2 separate regions of the Homo sapiens genome follow, and region 1 is linked to region 2. Evidence: promoter capture Hi-C in human tissues and cell types (Jung and others, 2019). All regions are on one chromosome and are shown on one strand. The core of a region is centred on a gene start or on the middle of the fragment in contact, and the rest is flanking DNA. Distances in the headings are between cores, read along the strand shown. Region 1 has its middle 280 kb from the start of ETV1. Region 2 holds the start of ARL4A (ARF like GTPase 4A).

What was found. The method cuts DNA at HindIII sites, captures the fragments that hold promoters and counts their contacts. A contact is called where the count stands out against the background at its distance.
Region 1: a fragment that was not itself captured here is called in contact with the fragment with the promoter of ARL4A in region 2 in 1 of the 25 tissues and cell types used here (lymphoblastoid cells).

The regions. Positions count from the first base shown.
Region 1 is chr7:13,706,129-13,709,513 of GRCh38, forward strand. No RefSeq gene overlaps it. Among named protein-coding and RNA genes, the nearest start is that of ETV1, 280 kb to the right of the region's middle. The HindIII fragment of the contact is 4,081 bases long and covers 1-3,385 here.
Region 2 is chr7:12,685,634-12,688,927 of GRCh38, forward strand. It overlaps ARL4A (ARF like GTPase 4A), which reads left to right and starts at 2,000. Exons shown (of 2, transcript NM_005738.5): 1 at 2,000-2,095; 2 at 2,533-3,294. The coding sequence starts at 2,622. The coding sequence ends at 3,224. It also overlaps the pseudogene LOC100505995. RefSeq lists silencers at 1,035-1,314, 1,515-1,564 and an enhancer at 1,509-2,045. The HindIII fragment of the contact is 5,802 bases long and covers 1-3,294 here.

The sequences.
Region 1 (3,385 bases), core at 754-3,253, 1.0 Mb after region 2:
AGTCACTTTATCACCCTGGGTCTCCATTTCCTCATCTGCAAAGTGAGACATTTGGATTTCATACTAAATTGTTTCCAGTTAGAAAATTCAATAATTTGATAAATTATAACAGTTTGTCACTGAAAAATGTTCCTCTACCAGTAACATAAAAACATTGAAGTTACTCTGAAAACCTTGTCTCAGACACCTTTTTCTACTTCTTGGAAATTAGAATGCACACTGTAGATGGTCCTTTTCGGATTACATGTTAACTTGAATGAGAAGAAAAATATTATCCTTGAAGATTTATGCAATTATTTTATCAAACCTTCTAGCTTCACTCTTGATAAAGGCAAATCCAACTACACTAAGTCATCTGCCCGGTTCGTGAGCCATCAGTGAACACGTGATTATGCTTTCTCATTCATCTTATGCCATTGCTTTCTCCAATACTGCAGACTGGATTAGAAAGGGTGAATTTAACAAGAACTTGTAAAATAAAATAGTAAATCTTTATAACAAGTTTGCTTTGTGTTAAGTATGTGACAAACAATTATTTATAACTTTAGCTAAGGCCAAACCTGTACAAGTATAAAATATCAAGTAGCTTTTGTCATAAAGTTTCTATGATTTAGAGAATTTTTAAATTCACATCTTAAGAATTTTACAAAAAATGTTTTGTTTATTTTCAAGCAGTTATTAATACTAGAATTTTTGTTTTTGTATTCAAATCAAGTCCTCCTCTGTAAAAAAATGTACCAAAGAAAGTTGGAATACATACATCAAAAAACTATCTTTTTCTTGAAGATTTCTACTTTTTCATTATATAATACATGCTCATTGTCAAGAGTAGAAAGTAAAGAAGTGTTTAAGAAAAAAAACTTCAATTATTTATTCTACTACCATTTTTAAAATATTTTCCCATCCTTTTGAAACATATTTGAATAGTATACCTTCTGAAATAAAGCATATGTACACATTATTAAATGCAAACATTTGCATCCATACTATACTTATCATTTTATAGCTTGTGTTTATATTTATAACATTTTTCATATTTAATAGCCTTTAATTATATATCTAAATATTAAAAATAAGCTATATAACACCTCTTGTTCATTAAATGCTTATGATATGCACTTAATGAACAATGTTAAAGACATATATATATATATATATATATACACACACACATATTTTGTTCTTACTCATCTAAACGATCTTTTATACTTCAGGGATCTAAAGCTTTGAATTGACTTGCTGAAGGTCAAAGTCAAAAGATGATGAAGTTGGAGTTCAAACCTATGCTTATCTTCAGAGTCTACATTCTAAAGCCATCTTTACATTACCTCCATTTTTAAAACTTGCCTCTATAATTTTCCACCATACAAATTTTAAAACTTAACTGATTTCCATTTTTCAATGTTTAGCTTATCTCCTTATTTCTTTTACTTGTCTCACAATGTGTTTAAAAACATTTTATGCACAAATGATTATGTCAATCACCGATATTTTCTAAGAATGCATTTCTATGCCATGCATACATTTGCAGTTATTTATATATAATTGTCTACCAATTTGCACTTCCACAAATGATTTTATGTTTCAGAATTCTGAATGATGCTTTCCCCTTACCTGAAAACTTGTGACTATATAGGTCAGTAGTTTTTAAAATTACTATTAGTTTTAAAATTAGACAAAACTATACAATAAGTAACTTCGAAACATTATAATGTCAAAGTCATGGGTTTATACTCATAAATCAACAGGAAAGATTTAACTACCACACAGGAGTATGCCATTTTCTATGGAAAATTTAATTCTGGCTCTTTGGTATGAGTGCATTAGCACATTCTTCAATTAAGCATGAACACAGAACTTCTAACATTACGATCCATGAGTTATAGCAGGCTTCTCCTACAGGAAAAACTTCTAACCAAACCATACACACAAATACAAACACAAACACATACCACACATGAGGAAATGAATGCCGAAAAGCATCCAAACACACCGCACGTAGCTCCAAGGATCCACGTAGTCATAGAACTAACTAAAAAAATACTGCTATCAATAAACAAAATTTACTACGCTTAAGAAAATTTCAAAGCTTTTTTTCCTGAACAAAGCATACATAGTTTCAGAACTATATAGTTTTCACAGATCACCTATGTTAGACCTTTATTTCCATTATATAGCCAATGTTGTTGTTGGAAATGACATCCCTATTGCTACTGTATTTAAGGTTATCAGCCAGCCTTAAATCTTAATTCTGTAATATGAAACAATTAACAAACTTATAATTTCTCTTTAGAAACTTTAAAACATGGCATTGTTTGCATGCAGAAGGAAAGAAACGTACAGGTGCCTAAGAAAATTTTTGACAAAATATTTTTAAAGTCTAGAAAATTTTTCTCTCCATTGCTTGAGTAGTGGCCTTGTTTTGTTTGGTTTTCTCCAGCCATCATTGAGTGAGAAGGTTCTACCAATATCTTGCTATAAATTTCATTAGAATTTACTTTGAAAGATTCTAAGCATAACGAAGATACTATATTTTACTGTCAGTGACAGAGTATGCATCTATTGTACCTGCTAGTCAGTTCTAATGATGGTAAATGTATTATACTTGGCTCTCTGGGGTGGCAGAGAAGCCTTATTTATAGCTTTTGCTTATATCCATGGTGAAAATATTCCCATGATGACCTTTATACTGCATACAACGTGTGGAAGAGATGTTCATGATTATATCCAACAGGAGACAGCTTCAGCGTCACTGTTGCTAACCAAATTACTGACCAGTTACAAAACCAGCTGGAGGTGTTTAGAGTTTTTAAAGAAAAGCCTAAAATTAACTGTTACATATAGAAAGAATATTAGAGATCAGAGAAATTATATGCTACTTTTCATATAGTTCAAGTCTTACCATAAATTAAAATATTTGAGATTACTCTAGTAGGTAATTTTTTATTCCCTGAAATTAGGTATGGCAGCAGCTTATTTTCTCTCTTACTTTGCCTCTTTTCCTTTCTCATAGGTCCGTTTATTTGTAACTTCAAAAGATCTTTACATTAAAGCACTCTAATTTCCATTTAATCTGTTACTTTCACTTTGATGTTGCTTAGTTGATTAAAGTAATTTGGAATCTCAGTGCTATGGAATGTGATTAGGAATGTCATATTTCTAAAGGTTATTTTGTTAACATTTTGCACATTGAATTTTGATCAAATAGTAGATAAAAATATCATTTATCCATCTTATTCTATGGTAATTGTCATAAAAATATAGCTCTAGTTTAAATTAATAATTGGTCTAGCAATTGGAAAAATAGCAAATCATTTTATTTAATTAGATCTTTTCATGAAAACTGATTTGAAGAAATCTTAAAATATGCTTCATATTTCAGGAA
Region 2 (3,294 bases), core at 750-3,249:
GGAGGTGGAGGAGCAGCAGCGATTTTCTTAGCCATTTTCTTACCAACAGAGGCCAAAGGAGGCAGCAGTGGACTACACTGTGGGTTGTCTTTGCGAGGAAGTGGCATTGGGCAGAGATGCAGTTCAGCAAACTTATCATTGCAGCAATTTCGGAGCTGACTTTTCGACAGTGCAAGATCTAGAAATGTGTGCAAGACATGCGAAAACCACCACCATTAACACTGAAGATGTGAAGCTCTTAGCCAGAAGGAGTAATTCACCGCTAAAATACATTCAGACAAAAGTGAAGAGCTTGCGCAGATTAACCTAGAACGAAAGGCACAGAAGACAAAGAAGAGGATGGAAACAAAAATGCAAGGGAGCCAGCAGAGGCTGGAGTACAGGAAAGTTAAGAATTAAACTCTCCCGCTGCTTGGAAAATGCAGCTTTCTGCAGGTAGAGCCACCTAGTATGTATATGGCCACAAAGGGAATTTTGAAGGGATAAATAGAGATTAAAAAAAAAAAAAAGGCTAGATGGCTTTTTGTGTTGTATTTTCCAAGTCGTTAACTGCAAACGCTAGTTTTAAAGAGAACTGGACACTCAATCAAAATACTCCTGTCTCACTCCAGCACATACAAATGGTGTAGTTGAATGGTATATTGGAAATTATATCTATTGCAATTAAAATTGTGTGAGCAATTTGAAAGAAAAGAAAAAAAGAAACATCCCTTTCATCTTTCAGAGTGTATTTCCTTATGTGTCAAACTGGAATATTTCTATCTGTGGCCAGTTCCCCGGGATGCTGCTAGAAACACGTGAGACAGCGCGTTCATTTGCTCTACAAAAAGCGAATGAAGGCGCAGTTACCAGGCCAGTCAACCCAGGCTGTTTAAGGTCAACTACTGGGGGACTTCCACGTCACCTCGATATATACGTAACGCGTGTGTGCCGTAACCCGTGAACTATGGAATCCCTAACCGCGAATCACGTGGCTGCTGCCCCGCGGACGCCCTAGACGACGTGAGGGAAGGCGGTGCCGGGCGGGGCCTGTGCCAGGCTGGCGGGCCGCCGCAGACAGAGCTACCCGGAGCAACCGTTCAGGGGTGAGGCCGGAAGTCCCATCCGACCTCGCGGGCAGCCAGCGCTAGGCCGATTCGAACTCGACCTTGTTTTGGCGTTGCTAGGAGACGCGGCTCCTGCGCGCCCCCTACAGGCCGGCGCCCGGGCGGCGCGCGGGCAGGGGGCGGGGACTGTCGCGTGGAGCTGCCGGGCGAGCACCGTTAGGGCAGCCTGGCGCGCGGCGCCCGCCAGGCGCCCAGTCCTCTGCCATCGCCCACGCCTCCCTGGTGCCAGGGAACAGGTATCAGCGCGCCTCCCCAGCGGCTGGGAGAGACGCTGAATGAAGAAGAGGGAAGGACGGTTAGTCAGGTGAGCCGCGGCGGGGTGGGCGGCCGGGGCGGCCACGCCCTGCCGAGGGAGAAGAGCCGGTCGTGTGCGGAGGGACAGGGTGAAGGGATCCCACTTCGGGGAGGATGGGCTTATCCCGGCGGGCGCGCCAGGTGGGATCTCTAGCGCCTCAGGGGCCCGCGCGGCAACAGCCGGCACCCTCGGGCCCGCGGACAAAGGGTTAACGCGTTGGCAGTGACTGCGGGCCCCGGATGTGAGAGCCTTGGCTTGACGCCCTGGCTGCGCTGCAGGTGCGCCGGGCCGAACGGAGCCGGCAGCCTGGCGGCGACCTGACCGCCCGAGGCTCCCCTTCACCTGCAGCGGCTGCTCGGCTCCCTCTGGGAACGCCGCCTTTTCTAACTTAAGGGCAACAGGTGGTGCCGGTGGACCGAGAGAGAGCTCAGCTCCGCCGCGCTGGGAGCGGCAGTTACCCTCACCAATTAGGGAGCGGGGGCGGGAGTTGCATGGCTTCCCTGATGCGGGTGACCAATGGGATTTGGGATCATGAGTGGACCGGGAGGAGTGGGCGTGGTCGGAGTCTGAGTCCAAGGTTTCTCGTGCGGCAACTGCCAGAGCTGCTTGGAGAGCTAAGCTGGAAGGGTGCTTATCCCTGCGTAGAAACGCCTGCCAATGCTTTCTCATTTGGACCCAGACTCCAGATCGGGAGGTGAGAACGTTGTTATTTTGCAAGGGGTAGGAGGTAATAGTGATCTTGGGTATGCTGTTAAGCATGTGGAATTAGATTCCGAAGATAGGACTATCTGCTATGAGTTTTCTGCCAGATAGGCACTTTGTGGTTACGGCCACTTAGACCAGATACTGGTGACTGGGTTCTTTCCAGAATGAGGTCTTTGAGGTTTGGGGACCCAGGAGAAAAACGTACATATTACTGCAATTTAAGTAAACCAGATAATTTCAATCACTGTTATTCCATCGTTTGTCTTGGACTGTGTGTGTTTTCATGTACGTTTCATATCTCGTCTGGTTTGTTTAGCGCAGCAAGTTATAGTAAGTTCTTCGTGTTGTTTATTTTAGCAAAGTAGAGCAAACCTGTTTTAATGTATTATTTCGGGAGAATAACTTATTCCTTCTTCCGTCTCCCAGCAGTCTTATAGCTGGATCAGCTACCAAGAGAAGTTGTAAACCAAGAAGAGAAAAGCATTTCAATTTGGGACATTTATTTGCACCTGGAAATGGGGAATGGGCTGTCAGACCAGACTTCTATCCTGTCCAACCTGCCTTCATTTCAGTCTTTCCACATTGTTATTCTGGGTTTGGACTGTGCTGGAAAGACAACTGTCTTATACAGGCTGCAGTTCAATGAATTTGTAAATACCGTACCTACCAAAGGATTTAACACTGAGAAAATTAAGGTAACCTTGGGAAATTCTAAAACAGTCACTTTTCACTTCTGGGATGTAGGTGGTCAGGAGAAATTAAGGCCACTGTGGAAGTCATATACCAGATGCACAGATGGCATTGTATTTGTTGTGGACTCTGTTGATGTCGAAAGGATGGAAGAAGCCAAAACTGAACTTCACAAAATAACTAGGATATCAGAAAATCAGGGAGTCCCTGTACTTATAGTTGCTAACAAACAAGATTTGAGGAACTCATTGTCACTTTCAGAAATTGAGAAATTGTTAGCAATGGGTGAACTGAGCTCATCAACTCCTTGGCATTTGCAGCCTACCTGTGCAATCATAGGAGATGGCCTAAAGGAAGGACTTGAGAAACTACATGATATGATCATTAAAAGAAGAAAAATGTTGCGGCAACAGAAAAAGAAAAGATGAATATCAATACCTATTATATCTGTGTGGAGTAGGTTTTCTCTGGTCTGATTTTGACAAATAGAAGAGTGTC